Linked DNA regions of Homo sapiens: regions 1 and 3 are each linked to region 2. The links are contacts of gene promoters, found by promoter capture Hi-C in human tissues and cell types (Jung and others, 2019). All regions are on one chromosome and are shown on one strand. The core of a region is centred on a gene start or on the middle of the fragment in contact, and the rest is flanking DNA. Distances in the headings are between cores, read along the strand shown.

Region 1 (3,434 bases), core at 28-2,527, 91 kb before region 2:
GAGGGCTAGAACGTGGAGAATCCAACAGGCGTGGGGGCCCCCTCCTGGGCTCCCCATCTCCAGATCAGAAAACACAGCCTCACTGTCTTGCACCTTCCTGTCTTGCAGTAGCCTGGAGGTGCCTCAGGGCACGAAGGTTCTACCTAGGGAATCCTTACCTCTGTCTCCAAAGGAGGTCCTGGCTAGGGGGTCTCTAGGTTCCCCAAAACTTGTTTCTGCAAAGACCTGGCCTGGGGTTTCCAGGGTCTCCTCCCTCTCTGGGGAAGGAGTCTTGGTGGGGATCTCGTGGTCCCCAGCCCCCAGGGCCCCTACTCACCGTGGGTCATCGCTGTACTGCACTGTGGCAAAGCGCACACCCTGTGCACTGGCTGCTCCAGAGAAAGGCAGCACCAGCCCTTCGAGAAAGCTGCGGACCTCGCGGAAATTGCTGCGGCCAATGGATGAGGAGCCATCCAGTAAGAACACAATGTCAGCGGCGTAAAGGCGCGTGCAGGTCACTGGGGCGGGCAGGAGAGATCAGGGCCTCTTCTGGGAGGCCAACCACCCGCCTACCCGCACGGTGGCCTCACTGGGACTTGGGATGGTGGGGAGAGTAGGCCTCATCTTATGCAAACCAGGGCCGAATCGGCCTGAGCCTGAGGGCCTTGGAGGGAGTTGAGCTCGGTGGGTCCCAGAGCAGACTCCCGCGGAGGGTTGGGGGTGTGCGGGGGAGGGAGAGTCGCCAGCACGGGTGTGGACTTGGGACTGAGGTCAGCCTCTAGGGGCCGGCGTGGATTGGCATAAGGCAGGGGACCCCGCACGCATCCAGGGAGCCAGAATTTGGGTAGGAACAGGATAGGAGGCGGTTTAGGGAACCCAGCACCGATCGCGGAGGGTTCGGGGAGTCCCAGAATTAGGAGGAATCCGCGGGGCGTCGTGGAGTTGGCTGGGTTGTGGGCGGGGGGTGTTGGGGATGAAGGCCGAGTGGAGCGGAGGGTGGCACGGTGCAGTGCCCCGGGCCGGGTCCTCCCTTGCGGTGCCCACCTCTCTCCCTGTGCTGGGCTCGCACTCGGGGCGCCTCTGCCAGGATCCCGGCGCAGAGCGCGGCCACCAGAAGCCGCAGCGTCATCCTAGGCAGTAAAAGCCGTCAGCTAGGACCCCCGCCTCTGTCCCTTGCTCCCCCGTGGCCTTGGCAGGTCCGAGCCCAGCGCCCCTCCAGCCCGAGTCCTGGTCTTGCCTGCGCGTCCGCCCGCTCCCGCCGCCGCCGCTGCAGTCTCTCGGGCAGAGCAGAGAAAAGTCCCTGATCTCGGGGGGCGGAGCGGCAGGCGGGAACCCAGGCACCCGCCCTCACCCATATCCCTGAGAGGTCGCCGCCCCCCCCACCCCTCCCCCAGACAAACGATATGACGCACTTAACTATAAACCCCCCGACCCCCCGTGGCTTCTGGGAATTTCCCAGAAGGTTCTGCATGGGCAGATGCTGAGGGAGTACCCCTAACTCCATCTAAGGTCACAGGTCTTGGCTGCTTTAGGTCAATCACAGTGACCAGGCTGAGGAGTGGACAGGTTCCTGCAGAGCCACAAGGCAGCAGCGCCGTGGGGGGTGGGGCTGCAGTTGGGGATGACTCACCCCCAATCCAGTGGGGGTGCCCAGACAAGCCCTCAGGCCATGGGTCCCGCCGGCCACTCCTGTGATTCAGCCATCTGTCTGGTGGGCCTCCTGGGCCCCACCCGGATCTCCTTGACAGGCAAGAAGCCCTGGCAAATGAGTGACTCTGGGCCGGTCTTAGGGAAACCAAGGTCCCCTTGGCCTGGATCCAAGTAACTCACCCCCTCTTTGTAGGGGATAAGCCGGAAGGAGGAGAGAACCTGTGTCATGCTTATGCATACATCCCAGTGTCCCACATCCCCTACCATGTCACAGGCAGATGCAATCCAGCTGTGCCTGCAGGGAGGGGGCCGCCCATCTGTGGAGGGCGGGACCACCCACAGTGACAGCTCATCTCTCAGGAATCGAGCCCTCCATGCCCCAGGCCAGGTCCCCCTACCTACATGTCCTCACCCACAGGCATCCTCTCCTTCCATCTACTTTTCTTGTAGGTCCCTGCCACCCATCTCCCCTACCAGGCCGAGGTCCCCTTGGGCCCCTTCCTCCTTTCCTCACTGCCCTCATGGTACCTGTAGCTTCCAGCTTCATAACTGCCCCCTACCTTACTCCTGTCCCCTTACCCAGGCTGACTTCACACCCTCCCCCAGCTTCGCTTCTGAGGCTGTGGACAGTCCTCCAACACACACCACGCCAGGGCCACTGTCCGAAGGAGGTGGGGCTCTGTATATGCATATCTCTCCATTAGATGGGTGACACTAAGGCAGAGAGGCACTGCTAAGAAGGGCAGGCCCCCATCTGGGTCCTGCTCCCCCTTTTTTTCCTGCTAATCCTGAATAACTCTGGGCAGCCCAGAAAGCACATCTATACTCACCAAGGCTGCTGGGCCCCTTCTAATATGCCCGGCCCCACAGCCTCCCCTGGGATCCACAGGGAGATATGGGGACAGCACTGGCTGGACTCCTCCACAGCCCGAGGACTCTGGTGTGGCCAGAGCTGGAGGCAGTGAAGACCATCCATGCTGCCTGCTTTCCTATTGCCCAAGGAAGGCTGGGGCTCTATCCCTTATTACTGACCCCCCAAACTATCCTGGGGCATAGTGCTATGACCTTATTCCAAGGTCAGGGTCTCCTCAGCCATGTCCCAGGACCCCCCATCCCTGCAAGGTGTGCTCCAGGTGGGGGGCTGCAGAGAACCAGGTATGTTATCACACAGGCAGCCCCTTCCCCCTAAGACTGTCACCTCCTCCCGTGCAGCCAGGGCGGGCAAGAGCAGGCCAGTGGCATGGACAGTACGGTACAGACATATGTGCACACGTGGGCCAGTCTTAGGGGAGACAGGAGGCCCAGCTGGGAGGGTGGGTGCTCAGGCAAACCTCATCAGAATTGAGGTGCCTCCAAAAGAAAGGACAGGCTGCTGTGAGAGGGTCTCTCAAAGGGTGCTGGGAGAGGCTGTTGAGAAGGTAGGAGTAAGGTTGGAATGACTCCACGTCTGGAGCTTCTATGAGACTCACGAGCAGGAGTGTGGCCCTCTGAAGCCCCAGCTCTGGCCTCCTGGGAGGAACACAGCCTAGGGCACAGCCCGAGGCCAGTGCCTACCTGCAACCCCATCAGGGCGGTGGAGCCCCCAGAGCACATCCTTCTCCCTCCCAAGCTTTCCCTGAACATTTCCTTCCCTGGCCTCAGTCACTACCTCACCCCATCTGTTTCCAACCAGGGCCTCTTTATCAGGTCCCAGCCCCACACATCCCACTGTACCCTGGACACCACCAAACTCCTCACTGGACTATGGAAGATTACCCTCCTCCAACCCACTCGTGCCTCCGCGTCTCCCAGCCCTGCTGGGAATG
Region 2 (3,587 bases), core at 139-2,638:
GGTAAGACCAGATGACACTTCCAAATTTATCCCGTTATTTCTGTCCTGAACTGGGCTGGGACAGGATGTTTCCTAAAGGATAAGGACTAGGACGGGGCGGGGGTGTCTGGCACAGGCCCGGCAGCTCTGGGCCCTTCTTCCCCCTGTGGTCAGAATAGACCAGCTGGAGATACGCACCCCAACCCCCGCAGCAGGGCTACTCTTAGGGAAACAGGAACTGGGACTGCAGCTTCCACTGGAAGGAAATGGGGCCACGATCAGACCAGGAGAAGCTATAAGAACTCACTTCATCACAATGTGAGCAGTCCCCACTCCAGGCTGGGAACAAGTAGGGATGGAACCCATTTTCAAAGCAAGAAAGTTTGAGAAGTCAGGGTTGGGGAGTGGAGCAGACAGTGTCAGCAGGGGCATGGGTCCTTGGTTCAAATAAGGTTGGTAGAGACTTAAGAAGAGCTTAGAGGGTGGCTGAACACAGGCTAGTGAAAGACACTGAAGTACCAAAGCTTGGGTGTTACATAGGGGATGGAGGTGTCTATGGCTCTAGGGTCCAAGTTGGGGGGTTGAGGACCTGGAGAATGGCTAGGGAAACAGGTGGTGTCCAAGGTGGTCCAGGTCTCAGTGGTGGCTCCAACGGGGGGCAAGGCGCGGGGTTGGGGGAAGAAGGAAGGGAGGGAGGGAGGGAGGGAGGGAGGGAGGGAGGGAGGTTGGTTGTGGGGTCCTAGGAATCCAGAGAAGGGGCATATTAAGGATCTGGGGTCTCAGGGATTTGAATAATTGGCCAGGATTCGGTGGGGCTCAGGGTCGCCATTCAGATGGCGGACTCGATACTGAAGGGTCTGGGGTCCTGAGGAGTCTCAGTCCCAGAGTTAGGCTTTTGGTCGATCGGGAGTTGGTCTGTCAAGGGCCTGGTCTTTTGTGGGTGATGCTGACACTTGGGGTCTCAGTCCCCGTGGGTCCGGGGGTCTCAGGGTCAGGTTCTCAAACTCCCTGTCTGATAGAGGTCCTGGCCTCGGGTCCCGGAGAGGGTGGGGTCCCTGGGTCGGTTCCGCGGGGCTGTGAAGGGGTCCTGCCCCAGGGGCGCGGAGGCCGGGCGGGAAGGGGCGCACTCACCTGCAGGCGGCGCAGGTAGGCTGGCGGCACGTAGCCCGTCTCACCACTGCGCGCCCGCGCGGCCAGCCACCAGTGCGCGCTGCTTCGCTCTAGCACCAGGAAGGTCTCGCCCGCGGCGAACGCCAGCGCGTTGGGCTCCGCCGAGCGGAACGCGTACAGCGCGCGGTACATGAGGCCGGGCAGGGCAGGTGCAGGGAAGGTGGCAAGGGCTGCGGCGCCACAACGCCAGGCCGGGAGCGCCGAGCCGCGCCGCGGTTGTCCCGCCCCGTGACACACTACGCAGGCGCGCGCGCGCCCGCCCGCCGAAGCCCCGCCCCGGGCTGTATCGTTCCACGCATCGGAGAGCAGCGCCCCCGCGCGGCCCCAAGAGGTGCGGCGGGGCTGGGGTCGACAGCTCGCTGTCTCCTCTGGTCCCTCCCGGCTCCAGGCCCCTCATCCCCGGACACCGCACCCTCACTCCTCACCCCGGCCTCAGTTTCACCCGTCCAGCCCTCTGCTCCCTTTCCCCGCTTAAGTCCGAGCGCTGCGTCCCGTCCTACCTCCCGGTGAAAGCGCGCTCCGCTCGTAGCGGGTGCGCCCCTACCGCCCTGGGGCAGTGGGTCCCATCTACTAATTGCAAGGACGGCGACCTCGAAAGGATGATCTTGCTGATCCGACACTTGGAAGCCCCCGCGGGGCCCGGCTCTCGGTGTGTCTAGGCCTCACCACCTGTCTTCACCGAGTGCCGGTGGTGGCCAGTGGGGAGCAAGTGTGGGGAGAAGGGGGCCACAAAAGCAGAAACCAGGCGGGGCTATTCCCTGTCTAAAGCCCTCCCATCTTTGCTCCCCACCCCTACTCCTCCTCTCTCTTCAGCTATGGCTGGTTTTCTCTATATTGGGCCTTTGCATATTCTGTTCCCTCTACCTGGGACAATTTTCCCTTCCCTCTCCTATAGTATTTGTCCGTCAAGCTCCCACCCCCATCAATCGCTATCATCTTGCTGTGTTTTATTGTCTTTATAGGACTTAAGATTTGCGATGCCCCTTTCTGAGAGCATAGAGGAGGGCTGAAAGAGGGAGTGGGGTACCACGGTGGCCTTAAGAGCCTATTTGATCCACCCAGCTTTCCAGTCAGCCCAGATCTCCAGATATATGAAATCCGTGTAATAAGAGTGCCTGGAAGACCCAGGGAAGAGGCCCTCAGGGTCCTGGAGAGACTGTGGCTGAGAATGGTCCAGCTACGCTCCACAGGAAGCCCGAGCCCAGGAAGCAGGAGGCGTGTACAGGCCAGTGTGTGCAAGTTTTCTATTTTTATCTGTATTTATTTTTTGAGACAGGGTCTTGCTCTGTCGTCCAGGCTGGAGTGCAGTGGGATGATCAAGCTCATTGCAGCCTTGATCTTCCAGGCTCAAGCCTACTGTCTCTGGGACTACAGGCATGCACCACCACACTCAGCTTTTTTTTTTTTTTTTTTTTTTTTTTTTTTTAGTAGAGACAAGGTCTTGCTATGTTGCTCTGGCTAGTCTCAAATTCCCGGACTCAAGCAGTCCTCCCAGTGTTGGGATTATGGGTGTCTGTCTGACCCAGTTGCCTATTTTTAGGCCTAAAGTACATAGGCCTAGTGTGAGGTTCAGGTGAGGGGTAGAACTGCTAGAAACTGACATCCAGACCCTGCCTTCTCTGCACCAGGTCTGGCTCTTCAGTTCAAGACCTCTCTTGGCCCTTCCTCCTCCCAGAAGCCCTCCTGGGGCAGGGCAGAATCTCGGGGTCTGTGCTGTCTGGGACTGCCTGAAGAATAAGACTGGTGAAATTGCAATGGGGACTAGGGCTGGGCAGGAGTGGTGACAGGTGGTGTGGCCAAGAGGACCACCCTACCTGCCCAAACACGCCTTTTTATGGTACCCTCCATCACCTGGGCCCCTTTACAACACAGTCCATGGCTGCCAATGGACCAGACCCGAGGCTAGAGACCCTAGTATTGCTTCCAGGACATCTATCACAATAGCCAGCCAATTAGCTGCTGCCAGTGGCATAGGAGGGATTAAAAGCTGGACCCAAGGTTTGGATCACCTGCTATCTAATTGGCTTAAGCTGCATACGGCCCATGAGAAGACCTGTGTCAAGCGTCATGTGGTTTTTGGATAGAGGTGCTGAGACACTTAGCCAGCACAGACGCCAGAAGGTATGTAACTTGGGGATCCTTTCTGGGTAACCTTCAGGATGCTGGGTTGGAGACTGTACACCATGCCAAGAGGTTGTGCTGACTTTAGGATCCATGGAGTGGGGGTGGCAGCCAGGAGAATACTGAGCCAGGGAGGTGGTCACAGCATGTGGTGAGGCTTGGGAGGGGGACTGCCTGCTCTTGGAAAGAATGACAGGAGCACTATATACAATAAACAAAAAGATTTGTATTAGAACATATACACTCAGGGAAGAAAGAGGTATCATCATCAAATGTGGAATGTTGAAGAAATAGTTAAAATAAATAAAGACTCCAAG
Region 3 (3,100 bases), core at 421-2,920, 79 kb after region 2:
CACTACCTATCTACCTTGAAGATAGATAGCACTCTATCTTCAAGAGCACAGACCATGAAGAAAACACTATTGACTTCTCACATCTCCTGACATACTTCCTGAAAACCCAGTATGAGACAGGCCTAGAACCTTCAGGATGACTTGAAGGTCCTTTGAATGTTACTTAAAGCACCTTAGGTTCAGAAGCAAATGTGGCCAGTTAACATCTCCCATTTCTGAATCTCAGCACTACATTCTTACCATACCAGGATACCTGCTCTGAAACACAGCTCACACCACTGGCCTTTGCTAATATTGTTTTCTTGCTCTGAAGGACCTTTCCCTGATCCCAAACATTGAAATTGCACTTGTTTTTTAAGCCCATCTCAAATGGCATTTCCTCAATGAAACCATATGTATTACTTCCATTTCTATGTTCTCACTGTCGTTCATACTCTCCTTCATTATAGTGCTTATCATATCTGGTCCTACCTATCTTAATAAATGTTTATAGAATATTCCAATTTCTAATTAAAAGAATTATTAATAGTAACGGCTCCTAGAAAACAAATACATTTAGAGATGTGACTCAGAGTAGACATCATATTTTTGTTAGTCCTTTATCTCTTCCAAGGGAGCTTTTTTCTCCCCTTTTATGGTAAGTCTGATTAGTCCTTGTGTTCTAGTGGGGCCAACTCCACCCACAGGACCCACACCTGACCAATCTGAGCCTTTCCTCCTCGTAGTCTCAGTACTGGGTTCTAGGATAAGCATATCACCCAACCTAGACCAACCATGTATCTTCTCCGTGCTCTTGAGCCAGAACCATAGGCAGATAAGCTTATACCTGGAAAAGTCCAATACTATTTATGTTTAATTAAAAATACAAACACAGCGGACAAAGAAAATTATCAGACAGTACTCATTACAATGATCTAGCCCACTGTTTAGTAATCTTTACATCTTACAAATTTGGTTAATCACTGAAGACTGTGAACTCTGATTTGTGTTAGATTAGCCAAAAGGATGCCTTTGTGTCAAATATAGAAAGTTAGAGGACAGAACTCTTTAACCTTCCCCAGGTTCTAATAGCAATGGATGAAACTTACTTAAGGTCAAAAGAAAATGACATCAAAAGAACAAACACTAGAAGCCAAGGAAAGGTGAGAGGAAGCAAGAGATCTGCACGTGTCAGTAAGACGGACGTCAATAAGCTTCAGAGGACTACATAATAGTCCTCTGAAGTATGATCTATTACCTGGTAATAAGAGCTCCCAACAGTGGGAGAACATAGAAGGTTTTTTGGTTTTTTTTTGAAATGGAGTCTTGCTCTGTTGCCCAGGCTGGAGGCAGTGGCGCAATCTCGACTCACTGAAACCTTTGCCTCCTGGGTTCCAGCAATTCTCCCGCCTCAGCCTCCCAAGTAGCTGGGATTACAGGCATGGGCCACCACACCCAGCTAATTTTTGTATTTTTAGTAGAGATGGAGTTTTACCATGTTGGCCAGGCTGGTCTTGAACTCCTGGCCTCAAGTGATCCACCTGCCTCAGCCTCCCGAAGTGTTGGGATTACAGGCGTGAGCCACTGCGTCCGGCAAGAAGTTTTTGAGATAAATGATGTACTAGTTCTTCAGGGGTGACTTCCAGGAAAGGAGCTGCGTAAAGCCCTCACTCACCTGAGTGATTATGCGTTCTCCATCCTTATAGATCTTCTCTCCTATTACATCCACAATCTTCATTCGTTCTGACACCTGAAACAACAAATTCACAAATAAAAGGAAAAGACCTTAATTGAAAGTCACAATAGCTATGCAGCACAGAAATAGGATTAGAATAGTATGATTTGAAAACCTAACAACAGAATAGTTTTAAAAGCTTTTCCTGATCCCCATGAACAGATTCTTATTCAAGCCACTTTACCTCTAGTGATTTAAGGAGGGGCACAGACTCAATAAATGATTCAAACATCTTCCTCTTCTTTGCATTATTTTTCACTATGATTCTTCTAAAAGTCACCCGGTCCTACAAGAAAGAATATGAAAATTCTAGTAAATGCCTATATACAGGAACATCTATGGTTTAATTAACTGGCCAAAGCAAATATTAGAGGAATATGTAAGTTACTGTGTTAATTAAGTGTTTAATGATACTTCAATCTTGAGTCATCACTGGAAGTAAAGGACCTATAGCCTGAGCCAGCCAGATGCCCACATGCTGTTGCTTGCTATCTAGCACTCAATAGGTGCCACCTATGGGTCATAAATAGAACCCAAAACAGAAAACACCTAAACATTTATGAGCTCACTGTCACTGTTCAATATCAAAAAAGACACCTCTAGTGAGCCGAGATCATGTCACTGCACTCCAGCCTGGGTGACAGAGTGAGACCCTCATTTCAAAAAAAAAAAAAAAAAAAAAAAAGAGACACCTCACCAAAAGAGAGAATAAAACAATCATTTAATCCTTAGAATCCAGGATTTAAAAAAACTTAAAAAATCCAAAACAATTAGATTGTTCTTGCCTAAAAAAAGAACAATTAGATTGTTCTTACCCTAAAAAAGTTTACAATCTTAATGGGGAGATAATATAAAATATCAAAATATGAAGGTTGGCTGAATGCAGTGGCTCACTGCCTGTACTCCTAGCATTTTGGGAGGCTAAGGTGGGCAAATTGCTTGAGCCCAGGAGTATGAGACCAGCCTAGGCAACATGGTGAAACACGCTCTCTACGAAAAAATACACAAAAAAAGTTAGCTGGGCATGGTGGCACTTGTCTGTACTTGGGTGGCTGAGGTGAAAGGCTCACCAGAGCCTGAGAGGTCAAAGCTGCAGTGAGTTGTGATTGTACCACTGCATTCCAGCCTGGGCAGCAGAGTGACACTATGTCCCAAAAACAACAATATCAACAACAACAACAACAACAACAAAATACATAGGAATAAAAAGTCTACATTTCAAGGACAGGTGCAGTGGCTCACACCTGTAATCCCAGCATTCTGGGAGGCTGAGTCAGACAGATCACTTGAGCTCAGGAGTTCAAGACCAGGCTGTGCAACATGGTGAAACCCCATCTCTACAGAAAATACAAAAATTAGCTGGGCATGGTGGCGTTTGTCTAGTCC

Evidence for each region. The method cuts DNA at HindIII sites, captures the fragments that hold promoters and counts their contacts. A contact is called where the count stands out against the background at its distance.
Region 1: a contact is called between the fragment with the promoter of COL7A1 here and the fragment with the promoter of NCKIPSD in region 2, in 1 of the 25 tissues and cell types used here (mesenchymal stem cells).
Region 3: a fragment that was not itself captured here is called in contact with the fragment with the promoter of NCKIPSD in region 2 in 3 of the 25 tissues and cell types used here (dorsolateral prefrontal cortex, mesenchymal stem cells and neural progenitor cells).

What each region holds. Positions count from the first base shown.
Region 1 is chr3:48,594,052-48,597,485 of GRCh38, forward strand. COL7A1 (collagen type VII alpha 1 chain) reads right to left here and starts at 1,278. Exons shown (of 119, transcript NM_000094.4): 1 at 1,217-1,278; 2 at 1,024-1,109; 3 at 317-497. The coding sequence starts at 1,108. The HindIII fragment of the contact is 15,548 bases long and covers 1-3,434 here.
Region 2 is chr3:48,684,527-48,688,113 of GRCh38, forward strand. It overlaps NCKIPSD (NCK interacting protein with SH3 domain), which reads right to left and starts at 1,389. Exons shown (of 13, transcript NM_016453.4): 1 at 1,111-1,389. The coding sequence starts at 1,281. IP6K2 (inositol hexakisphosphate kinase 2) reads right to left here. Exons shown (of 6, transcript NM_016291.4): 6 at 3,477-3,587. RefSeq lists silencers at 897-1,616, 1,010-1,304 and enhancers at 1,501-2,232, 1,827-1,896, 3,279-3,587. The HindIII fragment of the contact is 9,717 bases long and covers 1-3,587 here.
Region 3 is chr3:48,763,350-48,766,449 of GRCh38, forward strand. PRKAR2A (protein kinase cAMP-dependent type II regulatory subunit alpha) reads right to left here. Exons shown (of 11, transcript NM_004157.4): 7 at 1,899-2,000; 8 at 1,655-1,729. Among named protein-coding and RNA genes, the nearest start is that of IP6K2, 48 kb to the left of the region's middle. RefSeq lists a silencer at 574-774. The HindIII fragment of the contact is 5,722 bases long and covers 1-3,100 here.